7 separate regions of the Homo sapiens genome follow, and all the other regions are linked to region 4. The links are contacts of gene promoters, found by promoter capture Hi-C in blood cells and fetal thymus (Javierre and others, 2016). All regions are on one chromosome and are shown on one strand. The core of a region is centred on a gene start or on the middle of the fragment in contact, and the rest is flanking DNA. Distances in the headings are between cores, read along the strand shown. Region 1 has its middle 3.1 kb from the start of LINC00658. Region 2 overlaps LINC00654 (long intergenic non-protein coding RNA 654). Region 3 overlaps LOC107985411 (a long non-coding RNA gene). Region 4 holds the start of TRMT6 (tRNA methyltransferase 6 non-catalytic subunit). Region 5 has its middle 29 kb from the start of LINC01729. Region 6 overlaps GPCPD1 (glycerophosphocholine phosphodiesterase 1). Region 7 has its middle 9.9 kb from the start of LINC01729.

Evidence for each region. Contacts are between HindIII fragments. The CHiCAGO score rates a contact against its expected background, and 5 or more counts as called.
Region 1: a contact is called between a fragment that was not itself captured here and the fragment with the promoter of TRMT6 in region 4, in 1 of 17 cell types (M0 macrophages). The highest score is 5.1, in M0 macrophages.
Region 2: a fragment that was not itself captured here is called in contact with the fragment with the promoter of TRMT6 in region 4 in 4 of 17 cell types (erythroblasts, fetal thymus, M0 macrophages and 1 more); the score reaches 7.9 in erythroblasts.
Region 3: a fragment that was not itself captured here is called in contact with the fragment with the promoter of TRMT6 in region 4 in 1 of 17 cell types (M1 macrophages); the score reaches 5.2 in M1 macrophages.
Region 5: a contact is called between a fragment that was not itself captured here and the fragment with the promoter of TRMT6 in region 4, in 17 of 17 cell types (naive CD4 T cells, fetal thymus, naive B cells and 14 more). The highest score is 35.2, in naive CD4 T cells.
Region 6: a contact is called between a fragment that was not itself captured here and the fragment with the promoter of TRMT6 in region 4, in 17 of 17 cell types (naive CD4 T cells, fetal thymus, naive B cells and 14 more). The highest score is 31.6, in naive CD4 T cells.
Region 7: a contact is called between a fragment that was not itself captured here and the fragment with the promoter of TRMT6 in region 4, in 16 of 17 cell types (M0 macrophages, endothelial precursors, M1 macrophages and 13 more). The highest score is 16.3, in M0 macrophages.

What each region holds. Positions count from the first base shown.
Region 1 is chr20:5,447,379-5,450,381 of GRCh38, reverse strand. No RefSeq gene overlaps it. Among named protein-coding and RNA genes, the nearest start is that of LINC00658, 3.1 kb to the right of the region's middle. The HindIII fragment of the contact is 1,590 bases long and covers 683-2,272 here.
Region 2 is chr20:5,496,851-5,499,858 of GRCh38, reverse strand. LINC00654 (long intergenic non-protein coding RNA 654) reads left to right here. Exons shown (of 2, transcript NR_015406.2): 2 at 1-3,008. All of the region lies in intron 2 of LOC124904863 (a long non-coding RNA gene), which reads right to left. Among named protein-coding and RNA genes, the nearest start is that of LINC00654, 6.2 kb to the left of the region's middle. The HindIII fragment of the contact is 3,038 bases long and covers 145-3,008 here.
Region 3 is chr20:5,464,283-5,467,203 of GRCh38, reverse strand. It overlaps LOC107985411 (a long non-coding RNA gene), which reads left to right. Exons shown (of 3, transcript XR_001754485.1): 2 at 2,275-2,417. Among named protein-coding and RNA genes, the nearest start is that of LINC00658, 20 kb to the right of the region's middle. The HindIII fragment of the contact is 3,015 bases long and covers 1-2,901 here.
Region 4 is chr20:5,948,922-5,951,929 of GRCh38, reverse strand. TRMT6 (tRNA methyltransferase 6 non-catalytic subunit) reads left to right here and starts at 1,397. Exons shown (of 11, transcript NM_015939.5): 1 at 1,397-1,652. The coding sequence starts at 1,525. It overlaps MCM8 (minichromosome maintenance 8 homologous recombination repair factor), which reads right to left and starts at 1,278. Exons shown (of 19, transcript NM_032485.6): 1 at 907-1,278. RefSeq lists an enhancer at 1,262-1,401. The HindIII fragment of the contact is 3,685 bases long and covers 1-3,008 here.
Region 5 is chr20:5,537,915-5,540,725 of GRCh38, reverse strand. No RefSeq gene overlaps it. Among named protein-coding and RNA genes, the nearest start is that of LINC01729, 29 kb to the right of the region's middle. The HindIII fragment of the contact is 8,068 bases long and covers 1-2,811 here.
Region 6 is chr20:5,554,220-5,557,258 of GRCh38, reverse strand. The region is part of intron 19 of GPCPD1 (glycerophosphocholine phosphodiesterase 1); the gene reads left to right. Among named protein-coding and RNA genes, the nearest start is that of LINC01729, 46 kb to the right of the region's middle. The HindIII fragment of the contact is 2,865 bases long and covers 15-2,879 here.
Region 7 is chr20:5,518,385-5,521,419 of GRCh38, reverse strand. No RefSeq gene overlaps it. Among named protein-coding and RNA genes, the nearest start is that of LINC01729, 9.9 kb to the right of the region's middle. The HindIII fragment of the contact is 1,268 bases long and covers 1,015-2,282 here.

The DNA.
Region 1 (3,003 bases), core at 228-2,727, 500 kb after region 4:
TACAAACTAAGTCTAGTTCTTAATTTCTTTTTTTTTTTTTTTTGAGACTAACTCTCATTCTGTCACCCAGGCTGGAATGCAGTGATGCGATCTCGGCTCACTGCAACCTCTGCCCCCTGGGTTCATGCGATTCTCCTGCCTCAGCCTTCCAAGTAGCTGAGATTACAGGTGCATGCCACCATGCCTGGCTAATTTTTTTTTTTTTTTTTTTTTTGAGAAGGAATTTCATTCTTATTGCCTGGGCTGGAGTGCAATGGCGTGATCTCAGCTCACTGCAACCTCCGCCTCCTGGGTTCAAGCGATTATCCTGTCTCAGCCTCCTGAGTAGCTTGGACAGGCATGCGCCACCACACCCAGCTAATTGTTGTATTTTTAGTAGAGATAGGGTTTCACCATGTTGGTCAGGCTGGTCTCGAACTCCTGACCTTAGGTGATCCACTTGCCTTGACCTCCCAAAGTGCTGGGATTACAGGCATGAGCCATTGTACCCGGCCTTAATTTTTGTATTTTTAGTAGAGATGGAGTTTCACCATTTCATCCAGGCTGGTCTCGAGTTCCTGACCCCAAGTGATCTGCCCGCCTTGGCCTCCCAAAGTGCTGGGATTACAGGCGTGAGCCACCGTGCCCAGCCTAGCTCCTAAAATTAAAGTTGATTCCATGCTGATAATGTTGATCGCAAGCTTAGATAGAAGTGCAGGTGCAGAATAAAGACAAGACTCATTCCTATACCTACCCAGAGACATCTGCATACTTGACTCTTCCTTTACTCTCTTTTTATTTTCAAACATCCAATTTGTCTTATGTAAAATGTAGATTTACCAGGCAGCAGCTAGAGTCTCACAGGAATGTAGCCATTCGCCTTACCACCTGTCTGCCCTTTTTCCTAAAAGCCTTTCCCCCATTTAAGGAAATGTGTAAATACTAAATCCCCTGAAACTCTCTTGAGAAAAACAGCCACAGATGTACCTGTGGCTTGTATTTTTCCCGGAAGCACCCTCAAGCTGACTTAATAAACCTCGATGATTGAGATTTATGCCTTGGTCATTCTATTCAGATGTCAGAAGGACCCATGGGAAGACTCAGAGAGAAAGGTCTGTAGGAAGAGGCTAAGGAGCCCAATCTTCTCCCAGAAAATGGACGCTTCGGGTGGTCATGAATTGTAGGGCTATTGGTACTGGGGTGAGTAAAGAGGAAGAGAAAGAGAGCAAGGCCCCAAGGAGAAGGGGAAACAGGGAGGGAGGAAGGGGCCATGCCCTGTCCTCCCCTCCTCCAGTGTCCCTGCCCCTCTCCAACTTCAGAATTCCCATTGCTCCTTGAGAACTCAGACACTAGCTTCCCCACCAAGGCCTCCTCCCTCTGCATTCCCCCAGCCTGTCCATTCTCGGTCACACTGACTCCGAGTCTGGTCAGCTGCCTGTATGCCTGTCTCACCCAGTTAACTTAAATTCCTTGGGGTCAGGAACAATGCTTTCTTCTTATTTTCCATGCCACAGCTCCAGTTACTGTGACTGACACACAGAAATATTGGCTTGGAGTCGATTATCTCAGGGATGCAGCTCAAAGTAAATGTGTCTTGTATAGAGTGGGCATAGGGATGCTTTAATGAGGAACGAGCAAGTCCCAAGAGGAGCAAGGAAAACTTGAGCTGCAACCACTTTGCATTTCAGATGATGAATTAGAGCGGTTGTTATCGAATCTGCCACCAGAGGGCGATCCAGGTAAAAAAGATCTTCGGGCTACTCTTCAGCCCGGTGACCTGATCTTCCCCCAAACTCAGATCCTTGCTGCCTCCCAGAAACAGCAGACACCTAAGTCCAATGTAGCTTGCCAGGATCTCAGGGAATGAAATTTTATAGTTTGCTGGCATTTTCCTCAGGGGAGCAGAGGCAAGAAAACAATCAAATCCAAGTTTGCGCCACTGCACACCAGCCTGGGCGACAAAGCAAGACTCCCGTCTCAAAAAAAAAAAAAAAAGAAAAGAAAAGAAAAGAAAAGAAAAGAAAGAAAACAATCAAATCCATGGTCTGCTGTTTACTGGATGAAGAATAAGACTGCCTAAAGGCAATGTGTTTAGTACAAAGGTGTCATAAGCTCTGAGATGGTTCCTGCTTTACCAATTTCTGGAAGTGTGACATTAAAGCAACCATTCTCTTTTCTGGGCCTGGTTTTCCTCTGTAAAATGTCAGTTCAAGTTCCAGCCTGTCTTGGGATGTCATCGGCCTTTACAACCTACTTGGGCTATGGCCCTGCGATTAAGTGCACAGTGGAAGCTTAGTCCCCTTGCTTTTCTGCCTCTCTTAGGGAACCACAGTCACAGAAACCAGCACTTGCTGCCATAGGAACTGCTAATATCTTGGACATTCCCTGTATTCTCTCCCAGCCCAAACAGGCATAGCCAGAGGAGTGAGACATGCAGAAAAATGAAAGAAGCCCAGGGCATTGTTCAGCAGTGAGCCTAAAGTCTGTACATGCGATAGCATAATATTTGTGAAAATTCTTGCAAAATGCAAAGCTGATGGCATATGACTTGTAACTCATTCTTGTATATAACAGTAGATCAACATGCAACTGAAGAAAGCACTACTCAGGATGGAAGTAGCCTTGGGAGGGAGGCAAGGAGTAGTGAGGAGGGAGAGAATGAGCTGTTTCTGTAACATTTCATTTCATAAGAGAGATGGATGGACTTCAAGCATCTGTGGCAAAAGGTCACCTCAGATAAATCTGATTGGTTCCAAATTATTTTCTGTAATCCTCCCTATGTTTGACTCATTATTTTAATTAAAAAGAAAAAATATTTAAAGTAATTTTAAAAATAACAGAGCTCACCAGCCCCTTAGAGCGCAGCTTGGTCTAGGGTAGTTTCTTTAACTAGCAGAGCTTTCTGTAGATACAGACATGCGTTCACAAAGTATCTTTAGGTTTCCCAGGCCCGGAGGGGTGAGATAATACTAAGGGAGGGAGATCTGCTCTTGGAGGAGGGACCTGCTCTAACCAGCCCTGTAG
Region 2 (3,008 bases), core at 414-2,913, 450 kb after region 4:
AAAGCCTTGCAGGTGAAACATGGTGGGGGTAGACAGGGGTTCAGCCAATTTCAGTGTTTGGCCCCAAGAAGTGAATTTGGGTTTGAGGACCTCTCTCTGGAAGGATTTTATGACCAGATCTTCCTGGAGATGATATTAGAAGCTTTTCTCACCAAATATTTATTTGCCTGGGGTGCAACTTCTGCTTCATTCTCTCTTTGACTCCAGCTGTCTTTTTGGACTGAAGTGCAGGTTGCTCACAGCATCCTACAAAGTAACTGTCTTCCCAAATCTCACTTACCTCTGAGTTTCTGCTGTATTCCTGTCTTTCTCTCTCTCTTTTTGAACTGGAATCTATTACTTTGGATGATGCATGCTGGCGTTTTCTAAAGTTTTCTGATTGATTGTGTCTTTAAAAAATAATCTGATAGTATTTTAGCTTCTTGAATTTTGTGGCATATTTTTAGGCCTCTCCTAAACCCATTTTTGAGTGCTATGACATTGTTCATGTATGAAGTTATGCCAGTAGAAACAAAATGCTGTCATATAGGCTCCCCTAAAACTTCAAATCTGGTCCAGATCTTAGACTGGCAGCTTCTGCTGTCATTGGATCTCAGTGAGACCTTTGCACCCATTTCCTCCCTTTGTGATTCATCCACGGACATCCCCATCTCCTTGAGAACAATCTCAGGAATATTCCTTGCCTTCTTTCGGCTCTCACTCCATCTCATTTTCTGCTGTTCACTCGGGAATAAAGAGATGTCCCACACTTTAAAGAGTAAAAACAAAAATTGGAGCTCAGAGAGGGTGAACTTGTCAATATCACACAGAGCTGGGAGTGTGGTAAGCCCTTGAAATGGGGCTCAATGACACCGCTACCTCCCAGGGATTCCTAATGTCTGAGGGTTCCAGTGAGCTGAGATGAACCCAGGGCCTAAGAAGAACTCTCTGACCTCCTCACCTCCAAAGCCCCACCCAGTGCACATGGCCTGAGGCGTCCATGGTGATGGTAAAGAAACCTCACCTGCCATCTCTCCCATTACTGCCATGTCCCCTCTCATCCTATTCTGTGCCAAATGTCCAGATGTGATCAATAGAATCAGGAGAAAATTGAGGCCTGAGGGGAGGGGGCCAGACTCTGGGAGTGGAGAGTGGATTGAAGTCAGACTAGGGCTGTTCAGCAAGGAGTTCAGGGCCTTCAAGTGTTGGGAGCTTGGCAGCAATGCCAAGGGGAATGGGGGTGGATTTGGGTCCAAGTTTATGTTCGAAGAATATAAGCATGATTTGGAGACTCCTGATGTTCATATGCCCCCATCAAGCAGAGCTAGGGGTCGCCAGAGGAGAGAATGGTGCTAGAAGTTCAGGTGAGAACAGGGCAGACCCCTGCATAAATGTGGGATCTCTCTGTTTGAATCACGGCCCAAACACCGTGGCAGGGACACTCCCAAGGAACTCAAACATGTATTTTATCAGGGCTTTAACATAAGGAATATTGATTCTTAAGAAAATTGGAAACATATGAGAATCTAATTTACTCTGTTATGAGATGCCATACACCTGGAAGAACAGGTTAACTGTCAAATTACTACCAAATTGTTGCAAAAAATTGCCAATGAAGCAATCATACAAAGCTCAGGTAACAGAGTGGGTGGCCATCACTCTGGGAGAGGGAGATAGCACTGGAGAAGGTCCTTGTGACTCAGATCAAAGAGAGCAAATGGCAAAGAAGGGGGACAGTTGCTGTTTTCTGAAGTAAAGCCTCTTAGGTGTTATTTGACCATTTGTTACCTGTGAATGTATAATTTTGATTTTTAAAATAAGTAGAAAGGAGCCTCTTTCTTAAAACCAACCAATCTCTGAGCCCCACAGATGGTATTCTGGTTTCTTGCAGGAGGTTCTGGGTCCCACCCGCCTGCCCCCTTCTAGGACAACCCCACCAGCAAGGAGGTCTTTTAGTTCCTTCTGTGTGTGTTCACCTGCTCGTCCTGGCTTGGGCCCCAGGGAGCCCAGGAACCTCAGGGTTCTCTCAGCTGCACTTCCATCCGTGGTGCCCAACCTCAGTGCCTAGGACTCTGTGTGCCTGACCTCCTCCAGGCGGGGCTGCTCCCTCCAGGTGTCCACCTGGTATGGGCATCCCGTGGCAGCTCTCCTCTGATGACCGAGTGTGGTGGGGGTGCTAAGGCCAACTTGCTGCTGGCACGCCCAGAACTTATTTGCTGGCTGTTTCAAAGACTCCCTAAAGGCACCATGGATTTTCCTTAGAATACAGTTCTGTGCAGTCCCGCCCATCCTCTTCCCCTCTGTTTCCCACTAGGGCTGATACTTGCTTTAAGGTCTGATGGCTCACCCAGTCCTTCATAATTTTCACAATGTTATGTTCCTTCCTAAAACCCTTGCAGTTTAATCTGCTCTTGGCGTCTGCTTCTCAGAGGAGCTGAGGAACAGAGACTTCAACCCTTCTTCTCTCAGTTCCTGCTGCCCCTGTAGTGAGGCTGACAGTTGCAGACCATAGAGCCAGCCTGGCCTTGCCCAGAGCATACATGACCTCTTAGTAAGGCTGGGCCCTGCTAAGGGCTATGTTTTGCACACGTTCCTGCTAGTCACATCCAGCACATCTGGGCTACCACTTGGATGGCAACATTACATTGAAGACCACTGTGGCCATGGCAGGAGTAGACAAGGTGGCAGTCTTGTCTTCAGTCGTCATGGAAATCCCAGCTATGCAGCACTAGCAGGTGTTTTGTAATGGAGGATCAGATGCTTGAGCTTCTGAGCAGGCCCCCTCCCTCTACTGCCTTCTGTCAGGGTCTTGGCAGCAGCCGGCTCTGGAAGGCATCCCGGCTCTGGGTTCAAGAGCTTGCTGGGCTTCTACATGAAGGTGTGAAGTGTGAATGTTACCTTTTCTGATTTACACTTCTGTTTTCTGCTACAAACTTGGGATGTTTTCTGAGGGATGCTGAATAGATGGGGGTGGATGGGGGGAGGGAGGCAGGGGCTAGAAAGTGTTCTTCTGGGGCCACCCTCCAGCC
Region 3 (2,921 bases), core at 145-2,644, 480 kb after region 4:
GGGAAAATACGATCTGTCCCGGCAGTGTAGGGGAGGTGGAAAGTGGTGGTGCAGTGGCTAAAAGTGCAGGCTCTCTCAGGCCCCAGCCCGAGACAGGCCAATTCAGTCTGTCTGCAGGGAAGCCTTGGGAATCTGTACTTTCACAGGATGGGGCTGACATGCAAATGCAATGGGTGACCCTTTAGAATTACTGCCACATGAATTGAGGGTTTGAATTCTAGAGTTAGAAGAATTCTTTTGGACAAGTCCATTAACTTTTATTACTCTCAGCTTCCTCAGCCACAAAAGTGGCATCACGGTTCCTACACCATACGTGTATCATAAGGATTGAAATAGCATTCTTAACGGGCTTAGTGGAGTGCCTTGCATGTAGAAAGTGCCCCATAGATGGTATTATTATTGTTATCACTGTTTTCAAATTATGGGAATAGACATACCTGAAAAATTAGAGCACTGACAGCCCATTCTGGAGTTCTCAGGACACCAAGTCTCCATCAGACTCTGCCTTTGCATCTGGAGGCCAGCTGGAAGGCCAGACTGCTTTGGTGACAGGGAGAGGATGGCATGGCTGTCAGTGGATCTTGAGACTGAGAAGGTGCAGGGCTTGCTTATGGACCCCACAGTTGGAATGTGGAAGTGTCAGGTAAAGCCCAGGGATCCTGGGACCCCGACTTGTGTTCCACTGCTGGTCTCCTTCCCTCAAGTGCCCAGCTGGCCTCAAGTTTCCTCTCGTTGAGTGAGGCTTGTTGCCAGCTTCCTCACTCACCCTGGGGAAGCAGAAAGTCTCAAAATGCAGGCAGACACTGTGGGCAGGAAGGGCATCTCCTGTCACAGTGGGTGGTGCCTACATAGGCATAGGGGACTCCTGCGGGAACCACAGTATCGGGAGAGCTGGTGCCTTGTCACTGAAACCAGTGGAAAGAAACATTTACTTATAGAAGCTATGCAAACATACCTTTCATCACACCACTCTCCAGCTCCCTAACCCTCAATGGCTCCCCTGTGCCTTAAGAAAATCTAACTGTGGACCTTATAAGACAAAAATATACCTAAGCCCTCCAACCCAGGGAAAATAAACCAAGTGTTCTCCTTTAAGCACATCCCAAGCCCTCCTGTCTTTGTTCCCAGCTTCTCCCTACTGTCCTTCTTGCTCAGATCTTATTGTCATTGTCATTGCAATGACAGTAAGTTCCTTTCTCTCTTCTTTCCAGCCTCTACCGGCCACTGTGGCTCCAGAGTGAACTCCTCACATCTTCCTCTGAATTCTTCTAGAGTAACTCTGTAGCAGTCATCGACAGTAGGTCCCATTTCATCAGTAGGAAAAGCCTGTTTTTGTCTCCCTTTGAAGACTTTTCTGTCAGTCTGCCTTAGATTTTTCTAATTCCCTGCAGCTCCTGTTCAAAAACTGTTTCCCCCAATTGACTCATACAGTGCCCAAATTGTACACAAGCCAATGCAGATTTCAGAAATCCTATTGTCACAGGATCCTCTGGGTGTCGCTTCACCAGCTAGAAACCTCATGGCCGGCAGCGCCTCTACTTGAATATTGCTCACGCCCACTGGGTTCATTCCACCCATTCAGCCTGGCAGGCTGTGCCCAGCTTGCACTACCAGCCCAGATCCCATGCCTGCCGAGGGCAAGCCAGATGCAGAAAGGCGAAGGGTGTGTGAGTGAGCAAGTGCGGAGTGTGGCCCCTGCACACAGCCAGGCACGCCAACTGCCGCAGCAGGGCGGACGGCTCCAGGCACCGGCATAGGCACTGGCTCCATGCAAGGCTGCGGCTGGAGCAGGCATACTACAAGCGGCTTCTCCTGCAGTTGCCAGCATCTGGATGAAGGGAATGTGGTGGCTCCTGAAAACCTGGAGATGCCAGCAACTGCAGATCCTCTACGGGTTGGGGGTGCATGTTACAGCTCTCTCATTCCCACCACCCGCAGCGCGACAGCATGGCAAACAGCGGTGGGAGGCAATGTGTTTCAGCCCATTTGTGTTACGGCTTGTTCAATCCCATCACCCCAACTCCAGCCCACAGCTCCTGGGCTGGCCTGCCCCGCCACTGCTTCCTGTCACATCTGGCAGCCGCCCAGCACTGGTGGAGGGCGGGAGGGCTATAGTGTTACAGCTCTGGCTTGGGAATTCTGAGGTCTGCGTCCCCAGAAGGGTCACCACTCTTCACTCCCACAGTTTGGTGAACAGGGAAGCATATCACGACCTGCAGCTCAGTGAGCTGGCCAGGAAAGTGTTACAGCCCTTTTTGTGCACTCTGTTCGCAGGTCCTGAGTTGTTATCGCAAGTCCAGGAAGAATGAGGTTACTCAGGCAACTGGAGGGTGAGGATGGAGAAGAGCTTTATTGAGCAACAGAACAGCTCTCAGCAGAGAGGAGACCCAAAGTGGGTAGCTCCTACCTGCAGGAAGGTAATCCCAATGTGTGTCTGAGTCCTGCTGAGTCTAGGGGTTATTATAGGTGCAGAATGGAGGAAGTGCATGCTGATTGGTCCATGAGTGGGAGGAAGTGCATGCTGATTGGTTCAAGGGTAGGTCCAAAAAACCAGTCACCATCAACTGGCTGAAAGGCATCAAGGAAATTCTTACTCCCAGTCAGGGACTCCACCTGGAACTGGCAGCTTGGCCTCCAGGCTTCAGGCCATCCCTGGTTTGAAGGTTGGGCCTCACCAGGGACCCACCCCTTCCCACCTAGGTACCTGTCTGCCTCCTGCCACCATCACTATTGTTAAATCTCAGGGTGGAAGGCATGAGGGGTGGGCAATGGGAAGTGTAAATTTGTGAATTATCACTTTGGCTAAGTGAATGACTTAGTTTACAGTAATCTGTCATCCTATTTTATGATATCAAGTGTTTTGAACCTTTGATATTAGACAAACTTTTCAAAATCAAAGCTTCAAGTTCTAAATTTAGTCT
Region 4 (3,008 bases), core at 148-2,647:
AAATTAATGTATTCTAGGTTCAAGAGTAGCAAACAGGCTTGCAAAGTTGTACAGCTATGATACAAGACCCAAATATTCTGCAGTTAAGTTTCTAATCTCTATCGCTTTTTAAGGTATACCATAATAGTTTAATAACTATTAAATATGGTTTACGTATACTAGACGCTCACAGGTTAAAAATAAGGACAGGTACTGTACCTGTTTACAAGTCCCCATTACAGAAATGAAAATAGGACAGGTAATTAACTCTATGAAAACTTATTTGCAGTATTTGAGACTTCTTATTATAGGGCAGGACAGGATGAACATAATTCTGGCCTGTGAGACACTAGGGATACATCATCATAGCTTCTTACATACAGTCAATCCTGCAGTGTCACATCCATTTTTTGTGCAGTTTTTCTGTAAATCCAAAACTGTTCTTATAAAATACACGTCTACTTAAAAATGATTCATATCCTAAGTATACAAGTAAATAAAGATATACCTGTACGCTGCAGTGCAATTCATTATCAAATACTCTACCCAAATCCTTACTTAAAAGGGGTTTAGTTAATAAAACAAGATAGTAACTAGAAAGTTCACGATTTAACGGCATGACAGGGCTCCAATAATTAGGCATTACACATTATGAAACTGATGCTCAAAGAAATTAAGCAAACCGATCAAGATCAAAGTTGTTTGTCGACAGTACAGAGATAAAACTTTCAGCCTCCCAAGCTGAGGCGCTCCTTCAACAACGCTGCGTGCCATACCCTTCTCAAACGAGACAATATGCTGAGAACAGTAACAAATTCAAAAAAACGTTAAGAAGTAGGACTGGAGAAAGAGTAAAAAGAAACAGTTGGGTACCTGTGCTTCTTCAAATACTACTTTATTTACATCTCCTAAGGCTAAAGTTCTTACTTGCTTGGGACAGAGGTCCCAAAGCTCTCCTAGTTCACAACTGGGCCGGCTCCAGGATACGCGCAGATCTGTCCGGCCGGATTCTCCCTCCCTCCCTCCCGTAGAGAAGCACCACGGGGCTAAGAGTCTCCGGGATCTTAGCTCCTCAGGCGACTCCTGCCAAGTCCGCAGTTCTCTTCAGCCGCAGCTTTCCTGTCGTCCCCGCGCGGTGCTGAACCCCATCTGTCTCAACGGCTCGGGAAACTCAGTTTCCCCACCGCAGCTTCCAGAAGGTGTCTGTAGCGCACAGCGCCGCAAAAATGCCTCAAGCGAAAATCAGGTCTTCCCCTAAATTCTTTTTTGGCGCTTCAGTGATCCAACTTCCGCTCAAAGAAGCGGCAAGACGAGAGGGGCGGGGCGGAGTGCAGCCAATCAAGGAGTTTGGCCAGACGGAAGCCGAGAGGCTTCCGGAAGCGGTCTTGAGGTCTGGGCCGGAAAGCGGAAGCGGCGTGCAACACGTGGGGGCGGTGCCGGTCGGAGGGCTCCTAGTGCGCCAGGTTGTGGGAAGTGAGGCTGGCGGTGGCGACAACCGAGGAGGAGGGGCGGGACGCCGTGGAGCACGGCGACCGGCTGAGCGTCATGGAGGGCTCAGGGGAGCAGCCGGGCCCACAACCACAGCATCCCGGAGACCACCGCATCCGCGACGGCGACTTCGTGGTGCTGAAACGTGAAGATGTGTTTAAAGCAGTACAAGTCCAGCGGAGAAAGTAAGTCAGATCGCTGATTTTAGGGGTCTCCCGCCCCCACCTTGTAGATACCCCCTCCCTCCAGGTTTCTCCACAGAATTCTTCCGCCAGGGTGCCATTCTTGGCTCTCTCGGTCCCCATTCCCCGCCCTCGTTGTCTCCTCGGGTCTTTCTGTCACAGAAGGCTTTTCCACCAGGATCCCGTCTTCGAACCTCATAATCTCCCTTAACCCTCCTGTTTTTCCCGGAGCCCCCTCCATGATTTCATATCTGGCCGTCCACCTTCAGCATCCTTTTCAGTCTTTCCACAGAGTTCCTTCCCCAGAATTCCATTCTTGGCCCTAGGGTGCCAATGCCTCCCTCTCCACACCCTAATCACCTGTCCTGAAGTTCTTTCCCTAGGACCTTGGGATCTTCACTGTCTTTCCAGAGACACCCCCTCCTTTCTTCACTTTAGGATCTCATCCTTGTCTCCAGAGTCTCCTTCAGGTTCCCCCTTTTTTTCCACCATAGATCCTCCTTCTTCCCTAATCCCCCAGTCAGGATCTATCCCACAAAAAATGAAACGTCTCCTACCTAGTCTGGCTTTCTATCCTCTTCTCTACCCAAGCAGGATACACAGAATAGATGAAGGAGACAATTCACCACAGAGTGTGGAATCACTTTGAGTTTCCCTCGTTTTACTCACCAAAGGATTCAACGCTGGGAAAATTGCTAAAAAGCAATTTGCTCAAGGCCTCAGAACTCCAAATTAGGTTTGGTTTGTGCACCTGCTGGCTAGTATCGCTCTGTTTTATAGAAGTAAAGAAGTGGGATTTTGATAACTTTCTGGAAGGGCTGGTGAGGTTGTTAAGTCCTAAGAGCTTATTAATGGTGAAAATTTATTGGGATATTTGGATTAATTTATCTGAGAAATACAACCACAGTGTTTTTGTTTTTGAGACGGAGTCTTGCTTTGTCACCCAGGCTTTAGGGCAGTAGTGCAATCTCGGCTCATTGCAGCCTCTGCCTCCGAGGTTCAAGCGATTCTCCTGCCTCAGCCTCCCTAGTGGCTGGGACTCTGGCACCATCACACTCGGCTAATCTTTTTTTTTTTTTTTTGTATTTTTAGTAGAGACGGGGTTTCACCATGTTGGCCAGGCTGATCTCGAACTCCTGACCTCAGGTGATCCACCCGCCTCGGCCTCCCAAAGTGCTGGGATTACAGGTGTGAGCCACCGCACCTGGCCACAGTTTCTTTTGAGCTAGGTTATTGTATTACTTTTGACAGAGATAAGTTGAATGCAATGTCAGGAGAACAGCTTTCTGCAGACTGGGAAGTATGAGATTTGGAATTTCTGATAAGTACTTACTTCAGATGAATTCTTTTACTCCTGGT
Region 5 (2,811 bases), core at 223-2,722, 410 kb after region 4:
AGTTTGAGACCAGTCTGGTCAACATCTCTACTAAAATACAAAATTAGCCAGGCGTGGTGGCACATGCCTGTAATCCCAGCTACTCGGGAAGCTGAGACAGGAGAACCTCTTGAACCTGGGAGGCAGATGTTGTAGTGAGCCAAGATCATGCCACTGCACTCCAGCCTGAGCAATACAGTGAGACTCCATCTCAGGAAAAAAAAAAAAAAAAAAAAAAAAAACATACCCAATGGGTAAATGGTCTCCAAGTTCCTAGAAACCAACTTTATAAGTGATCTTTAGAAGCACAGTTTCTTGTGTCAACTAGTGTCTCTAGTTGAGATAGTAGTGAGAGTCTGTCTCCACTGACTTTCAGCAAGGTTGTTCCATGAGAAAAGGGCCAAGGTTTGGGGAATGAGTGTGATGAAGATATCCCAGGCTTGGTGTTAGAAGGAAGTGGCCATGTGGATAGCAGACGCAGAGGTGCCTAGGCTCCCAGCATGTTTCTGTAATTGCCTGATGGGCTTGTCCTCCCCATTGCACAGACAAAATCAATTCACTGAGACCATGGCATTACAGTGAAGAGTTTAATTGATGCAAGACCCACCACCACACAGGAGATGGAGTTATTACTCAAACTGATCCCTGTGAAGGCTTTGAGTTTAGCGGTTTTCAAGTATAGTTTGGTGGGCAGGGGACTAGGGAATGCTACTAATTGGTTGGGGATGCTATCACAGGGGCATGGAAAATGGTTTGCCTCTGAGTGGGGGTCCCAGAGGACTGCTTAGTCATGAGTCATGAGTCTGGGTGGAGTTAGCCAATTGTCAGAAGTGCAGAAGTCTGAATAGACACCTCAAAAGACCAATCTTAGGTTCTACAATAGTGATGTTATCTACAAGAGAGATTGGGGAAGTTGCAAATCTTGTGACCTCCGGAACAATGGCTGTTTTTCCTTTACGCCTCCATCCTAGCAGAATTCGGGCCCTTCTCATTCTCCTAACCTTGCGGCCTTTCATTAGTTTTACAAAGGTGATTTAGTTTTGGGAAGGGCTATGGTAGTCTAAGGTTAAACTATAAACTAAATGTCTCCCAAAGTTAGTCTGGCTTATGCCCAGAAATGACCAAGAACAGCTTGGAGGTTAGAGGAAGGATGAAGTCAGCTATGTTAGATTTCTCTGTCTAATTTTGCAAAGGCAGTTTCATGTGGAGGACTCTGCCAGAGATACAGAATTTGTGCACCATGCCTCAGCCTCTCTTCTTTTAGGAAATATCCCAGAGATGCACATGGCACATAAATTCCCAGCTGGTCCCTTCTGGGAATTTGTAGGTGCGTCTTGGAAGATTCCCCAATGTCCATGTGTTGGACAGTCCTCCCACCTCAGCCCCGCAAGTAGCTGGGACTACGGCGCATGCCACCATGCCTAGCTGGGACTACAGGTGCGTGCCACCCACCTTCCCCTCTGAAAGCATTTCATGGTTGTCACCAAAGTGTGTGGAGTCTGGACCAACAACTCCACTAGCACATTGGTAGAGTCTTAGTGAGATGACTTTGGCTCAAAGAGGAGTCCCCAAAATGTTTATACCTCTTGTAACTAATCATTTTTAAGTTTGGGAAACATTAGGAAATAAGGAAGCCAATGACTATTGATGGCAAAAATGCAGACGCTATGACTCCTTTGCTGTGACTCTGGCAGTGAATCCTGTACTGGACTAGCTCAAGTATGGGCAGGGAAGTGCTATAGCTTGTATTGTTTAGTTCCCAGTTTCCCTGTGGGGCACTATTTGGGGTACAGGAATTGCTCATGATTTTACATAACGCAGAGATACCTACTAGACAGAATTTCACCAAGTCATGGCTAGGCACTGGAGGCTCAGTGGTGAGCACGTGGTTACCCCCTCATGAAGCTCAACAGCCGCAACATGCAATGCATTGGAATCCTGCCTCCACCTGTGTGAATCTCTGTTTGAGCATCAGTCTCTCAATCTCTCTCTCTCTCTCAGACAGGATCTCACTCAGTCACCCAGGCTGGACTGCAGTGGCATGATCACGGTTCACTGCAGCCTTGGTGCCGGGGGCTCAAGCCATCCTCCTGCCTCAGCCTCCTAAGTAGCTGCAACTGCAGGTGCATGCCACCATGCCCAGCTGATTTTAGAAAAATTTTTGTAGCGATGGAGTTTTGCCATATTACCCAGTCTGGTCTGGAACTCCTGGGCTCAAGCGATCCTCCTGCCTCAGCCTCCCAAAGTGCTGGGATTACAGGCGTGAGTCACCATGCATGGCCAATAAAACCAAGTTTTTTTTTTTTTTCAAATGGAGTCTTGCTCTTGCTCTTGTTCCCCAGGTTGGAGTGCAATGGCGCGATCTCAGCTCACTGCAACCTCCACCTCTGGGGTTCAAGCAGTTCTCCTGCCTCAGCCTCCCGAGTAGCTGGGATCATAGACGCATGCCACCACACCCGGCTAATTTTTGTATTTTTTGGTAGAGACAGGGTTTCATCATGTTGGCCAGGCTGATCTTGAACTCCTGACCTTGTGATCCACCTGCCTCAGCCTCCCAAAGTGCTGGGATTACAGGTGTGAGCCACTGTGCCCGGCCTAATAAAACCAACTTCTAATGACCACAGCTCTTTGCCAGCAACGGTGACCCAAATAAGTCCAACGAACAGGGAGGCTGTGGAATGGCACATGAGTCACTCTGGACCAGCAGGAAAATAGATTTTCACAGGTCTAGGGCAGGGCATGAATGAGGTGAGCACTGGACCGCTTATCATGTCGAAAGCAAGGAAGGTATCAAACACTAATAGGATGAAGTCAAAGGAACCCAGAACCGAC
Region 6 (3,039 bases), core at 198-2,697, 390 kb after region 4:
GTGAGAGGGAAGCTTTTAAGACCTATGTCTGATCATGTTGCTACTTAAAACTCTCCCACAGTTTTCTGTGTCACCTAAAGGAAAAGCTGAAGCCTGAGGGCCCTATATGAGCCAATCTGCCACCCCACCACCTTCAACCCTCTTTCCCTCTCTGACCTTCCACAAAATTCCCCCATCTGCTGTTTCCCATTCTTTGGAGAAAGACTTCCGTAACAATTTAAATGTCACCTCAGTGAGGACTTTCTTGAATAACTGATTTCAAATAACAACTTCTATTCACAGTGCACTCCCTGACTTGTCTCCATATCATTTATCATCATCTGACACACCACATATTCTGTGTTACATTTTACTTGTTTTTCTCCCTAGCCCCTTTCCTCCATCCTCCTGGGCACTAATGCACACATGCAAATGAGAATATAGGCTCCATGAGGAGGGCAAGGCTGTTTGCCTGATTTGTTCATTGCTATTGAGGTTAGAACAATGTGGGGCATCCAGTAGGGAGTCAAATAATTTATTGAACAAATATTTTTTTTTCCATCAGCTTCTTTGGCAGCCACTAATCTGAGAGTCAAAAAGGTTTCTTTAGTATAAAGATATTTGGGGTTAGAAGGGATGTCATTTACTCTGCTGAGGGATTAGCAGACTTGCTCATACAGGTGTACCTCAGCGATAGTGAAGGCTGGGATCCAGACCACCACAGCAAAGCAAGTCCTAAATCTTTTGGTTCCGAGTGCATATAAATGTTATGTTTAGGCCGGGCGCAGTGGCTCACGCCTGTAATCCCAGCACCTTGGGAGGCTGAGGCGGGCAGATCATGAGATCAGGAGTTTGAGACCAGCCTGACCAACATGGTGAAACCCTGTCTCTACTAAAAATACAAAAATTAGCCGGGTGTGGTGGCACATGCCTGTAATCCTAGCTGCTCGGGGCTGAGGCAGGAGAATCACTTGAACCCAGGAGGCAGAGGTTGCAGTGAGCCGAGATCGCGCCACTGCACTCCAGTCTGGGTGACAGAGTGAGACTCTGTCTAAAAAAAAAGTTATGTTTATACTACATTGTAGTTTACCAAGTGTACAGTAGCGTTGTGTCTGAGAAAACACAGTATATATCTTAATTTTAAAATACGTTATTACTAGGAAATGCTAACAATCTACCTTCAGCAAATCATAATCATTTTGCTGCTGGAGGGTCTTGCTTTGATGTTGATGGCTGCTGACTGATTAGGGTGGTGGTTGCTGAAGGTTGAGGTGGCTGTGGCAGTTTCTTAAAATAAGACACAAATGAAGTCTGCTGTACCCGTGGACTCTTCCTTTTACACAATATTTCTCTGTTGCACATGATGGTGTTTAAGAGCATTTTTCACCCACAGTAAAACATCTTTTTTATTTGTTTTTGCTTTTTGAGACAGAGTCTCACTCTTAATACCCTGGCTGGAGTGCAATGGCATGATCTTGGCTCACTGCAACCTCCATCTCCTGGGTTCAAGCGATTCTTCTGCCTCCTGGGTAGCTGGGATTACAGGCGCACGCCTGCCACCATGCCTGGCTAATTTTTGTATTTTTACTAGAGAAGAGGTTTTGCCATGTTGGCCAGGTTCTTGAACTCCCGACCCCAAGTGATCCACCCGCCTTGGCCTCCCAAAGTGCTGTGGGATTACAGGTGTGAGCCACCGCGCCCTGCCAAAACATCTTTATTTTTATTTTATTATTATTTTTTTGAGATTGAGTCTCGCTCTGTCGCCCAGGCTGCAGTGCAATGGCACAATCTCGGCTCACTGCAACCTCCGCCTCCCAGGTTCAAGTGATTCTCCTGCCTCAGCCTCCCGAGTAGCTGGGACTGCAGGCATGCACAACCACATCCAGCTAATTTTTGTATTTTTGGTAGAGACAGGGTTTCACCATATTGGCCTAGGCTGTTCTTGAATTGCTGACCTCAGGTGATCTGCCTGCCTTTACCTCCCAAAGTGCTGGGATTACAGGTGGCCACCACTCCCTGCCCCACAGTAGTAAGTACATCTTTAAATTGGAGTCCATCTTCTCAAACCCTGCTGCTGCTTTATTCACTAAGTTTATGTAATATTCTGAATCTCTTGTTGTCATTTAAACAATGTTCAGAGCATCTTTGTTGGGTGGATTTGTCTCAAAAAACCATTTTCTTTCCTCATCCATAAGAAGCAACTCCTCGTCTGTTAAAGTTTTATCATGAGATTGCAGCAATTCAGTCACATCTTTAGGTTCCACTTCTATTTCTAGGTCTCTTTCTATTTCCACCACATCTGCAGTGACTTCTTCCACTGAAGGTTTGAACCCCTCTGGCATCTATGAGGATTGATATCAGCTTCTTCCAAATGCCTGTTAATGTTGATATTTTGATCTTGTCCCATGAATCAGAAATGTTCTTAATGGTATCTGGAATGATAAAAAGTTTTCAGTTTACCTTGCCAAGATCCTTCAGAGGAATCACTGTCTGTGGCAGCTACAGTCTTTGAAATGTATTTCTAAGGTAATAAGACTTGAAAGTCAAAGTGACTCCTTGATCCATGGGCTGCAGAATGGATTTTGTGTTAACAGGTATGAAAGCAGCAATCTCTGTTAGAGTTCTTGGGTGACCAGGTGCATTGTCAATGATCAGTAATATTTTTTCTTCCTGAGCCGTACGTCTCAACTATGGGCTTAAAATATTCAGTAAACCATGCTGTGTACAGATGTGTTGTCATCCAGACTTTGTTGCATTTCTGGAGCACAGACAAAGTAGATTTAGCGTAATTCTGAAGGGCCCTACAATTTCCAGAGTGTTAAATGAGTATTGGCTTCAACTTAAACTCATCATCAGTTGTATTAGCCCCTAACAAGAGAAGCAGCCTGTTATTTGAAGCTTTGAAGCCAGGCATTGACATCTCTCAAGCTGTGAAAGGTCTAGATGGGCATCTTCCAATAGAAGGCTGTTTTGTCTACATTGAAAATCTGTTGTTCGGCCGGGCCTGATGGCTCACGCCTGTAATCCCAGCACTCTGGGAGGCCGAGGTGAGCGGATCAC
Region 7 (3,035 bases), core at 399-2,898, 430 kb after region 4:
TTTCCTTTGTGAGTTGGCTATAGATCAAGGAGACTTTTGTGATTCCAGCAATTCTGATTTCCATACAGGGTATAATGCCATGTTCCACAAGAAGCAGAATTAATTGGATAGCCCTCTTCACCTTGGGCAAGATAGGATGCCTGTAGATTGGTGCTGGAAGAGAGAGATTGCCAGGGACTATGAAGGCGTCTGGGGATACATAGCCTATGGTACAAGTTTCATTCCAGTTAGTGGGGAGGCATTGGTGAACTGATTGGCCACAAATATAGATGGCTCCTTGGGTTTTAAGACAAGTAGAGATGTCCAAATGAAATAAGTCGGTGAGGACAGCTTCAAAAAATCCTGAGGCTGCCAACATGCCCAGGTAGCTCATGGCTATTGTCATACCTGGTAAGACTTGGGTGCCTGGGGTTGCTAGCTGATTCCAATATGTGCCCGGAATTAGAATATTGATCCAGATTTTTACATTACCCATGCCTCTTATTTCATCTGAGCTGTAGCCAGAGATCACTGGTTGGTTCACAGAAGTAAGCAGGATCAGTCTAAATTGCAGAAAAAAACCCTCAAAAACAATTGATGAGACTAGAATCTAATAACAGGTGTACCATAGTCATAGTTTTTTGTTTTGTTTTGTTTTGAGATGGAGTTTCACTCTTGTTGCCCAGGCTGGAGTGCAATGGCGTGATCTCAGCTCACTGCAAACTCTGCTCCCCCAGGTTCAAGTGATTCTCCTGTCTCAGCCTCCCAAGTAGCCGGGATTACAGGCACGTGCCACCATGCCTGGCTAATTTTTTGCATTTTTAGTAGAGATGGGGTTTCTCCGTGTTGGTCAGGCTGGTCTCCAACTCCCAACCTCAGGTTATCTGCCTGCCTCAGCCTCCCAAAGTGCTAGGATAACAGACGTGAGCCACCGCACCCGGCCCCATAGTTCTTAAAACATAATTTTCCTCTCTCCAGTCCTCATTTTTATTAAAAACAGACCACGATAGGACTGATTTGTTTGCAAAATAAGCTTTAGTCTTTTTATACTGATTATTTGCATAAAGCACAGCAAGAATAACTGTTTGCCATATAGGCTCCTTTTTATATTGGCTTTGATGAAACATTATTCCATGAGGAACCTCAGATAAGACTTTAAAGCCTTGAGCCCAGCCATGGTTTTTTGCCATCACATACCTGTATGAGTTGAGTAAATTTCTCTCCTCCTGAGGTCCTAATATAACTTGGGCCTTCCGGGCCTGCTAGGAACTGATATTCTTTACTTATCACAGGTTAGGAACCCTGTACAGGAACTGTATAGACTAGGTATGAGGCCAGTTTTCTCAAGGGGTTTTTATTGGCTCTATAAGTCAACTTTGATTCCTTAAAGGAGTCTGTTTGTATCTCAAAGAAAACCATTCCAGTCAAAGCCTTGGTAAAATAACCAGTGTCTCCAATTGTGTCCTGTTAAAAAAGAAAACAGATTCACATTGCACTTATGCAGATAACTATATTGCTATAAATTAAGAATACAAATAGTTTCCACATTTTGGAGAAATCCAGTAGAGAGAAATATACTCCAAATTTTGTTTACAGGAGTATTCTTTACTCAATTTTTAAAAGCTGTAAATAGCTCAGAAAAGTTGTCTTGGCTTCAAAAAACAAAACAAAGGGTTAGTAATTCTTTAAGCAAAAAGTCATAAAAGGATTATTTTAGTCTTCCATTAGTTCAGTTCATGTAGTTAACTCCTGTTCTGCTTCATATTCATGAACATTTAGCTCTCCATGAGAGTCCTGAAAGTTTTTTTCTTCTATTCTAATGTCACAATCTCCAAAGTTATTGGAAACCTGCATTTAAGAGCATGTGTTGGAGTCCTATAGCTGATTGTAAAATCACCTTTTATTTATTTATTTATTTACTTATGTATTTGAGATGGAGTTTCACTCTTGTTACCCAGTCTGGAGTGCAATGGCGTGATCTTGGCTCACTGAAACCTCTGCTTCCTGGGTTCAAGCAATTCTCCTGCTTCAGCCTCCCAAGTAGCTGGAATTATAGGCATGTGGCACCATGCCTGGTTAATTTTTGTATTTTTAGTAGAGATGTGGTTTCTCCATGTTGGTAAGGCTGGTCTTAAACTCCTGACCTCAGGTGATCTTCTTGCCTTGGCCTCCCAAAGTGCTGGGATTACAGGCATGAGCCACTGTGCCTGCCTGTTAAACCCATTTTTGAGCTACTTGGTATTTTCTATTTATGGAATGTGCCAAAATTTAAAAATGCTACCATAAAAGGCTCCCCTAAAGCTTCAGTGAAACCTGGCCCAGGTCTCAGATGCTTATGTGGTATAGTGTATACCAATCCAATTCTATCCTGTCTTATAACTTTAAGACATAAGAGGTTTTCTTTTTTATTTATTTTTTTATTATACTTTAAGTTCTAGGGTACATGTGCACAATGTGCAGGTTTGTTACAAATGTATACATGTGCCATGTTGGTGTGCTGTACCCGTTAACTCATCATTTACATTAGGTATATCTCCTAATGTTATCTCCCCCATCCCCCTACCCCACGACAGGCCCCAGTGTGTGATGTTCCCCACCCTGTGTCCAAGTGTTCTCATTGTTCAATTCCCACCTATGAGTGACAACATGCAGCGTTTGGTTTTCTGTCTTTGCGATAGTTTGCTCAGAATGATGGTTTCTTGCTTCATCCATGTCCCTAAAAAGGCCATGAACTCATCCTTTTTATGGCTGCATAGTATTCCATGGTGTATATGTGCCACATTTTCTTAATCCAGTCTATCATTGATGGACATCTGGGTTGGTTCCAAGTCTTTGCTATTGTGAATAGTGCTGCAATAAACATACATGTGCATGTGTCTTTATGGCAGCATGATTTATAATCCTTTGGGTATATGCCCAGTAATGGGATGGCTGGGTCAAATGGTATTTCTAGTTCTAGATCCTTGAGGAATCGCCACACTGTCTTCCATAATGGTTGAACTAGTTTACAGTCCCACCAACAGTGTAAAAGCATTCCTATTTCTCCACATCCTCAC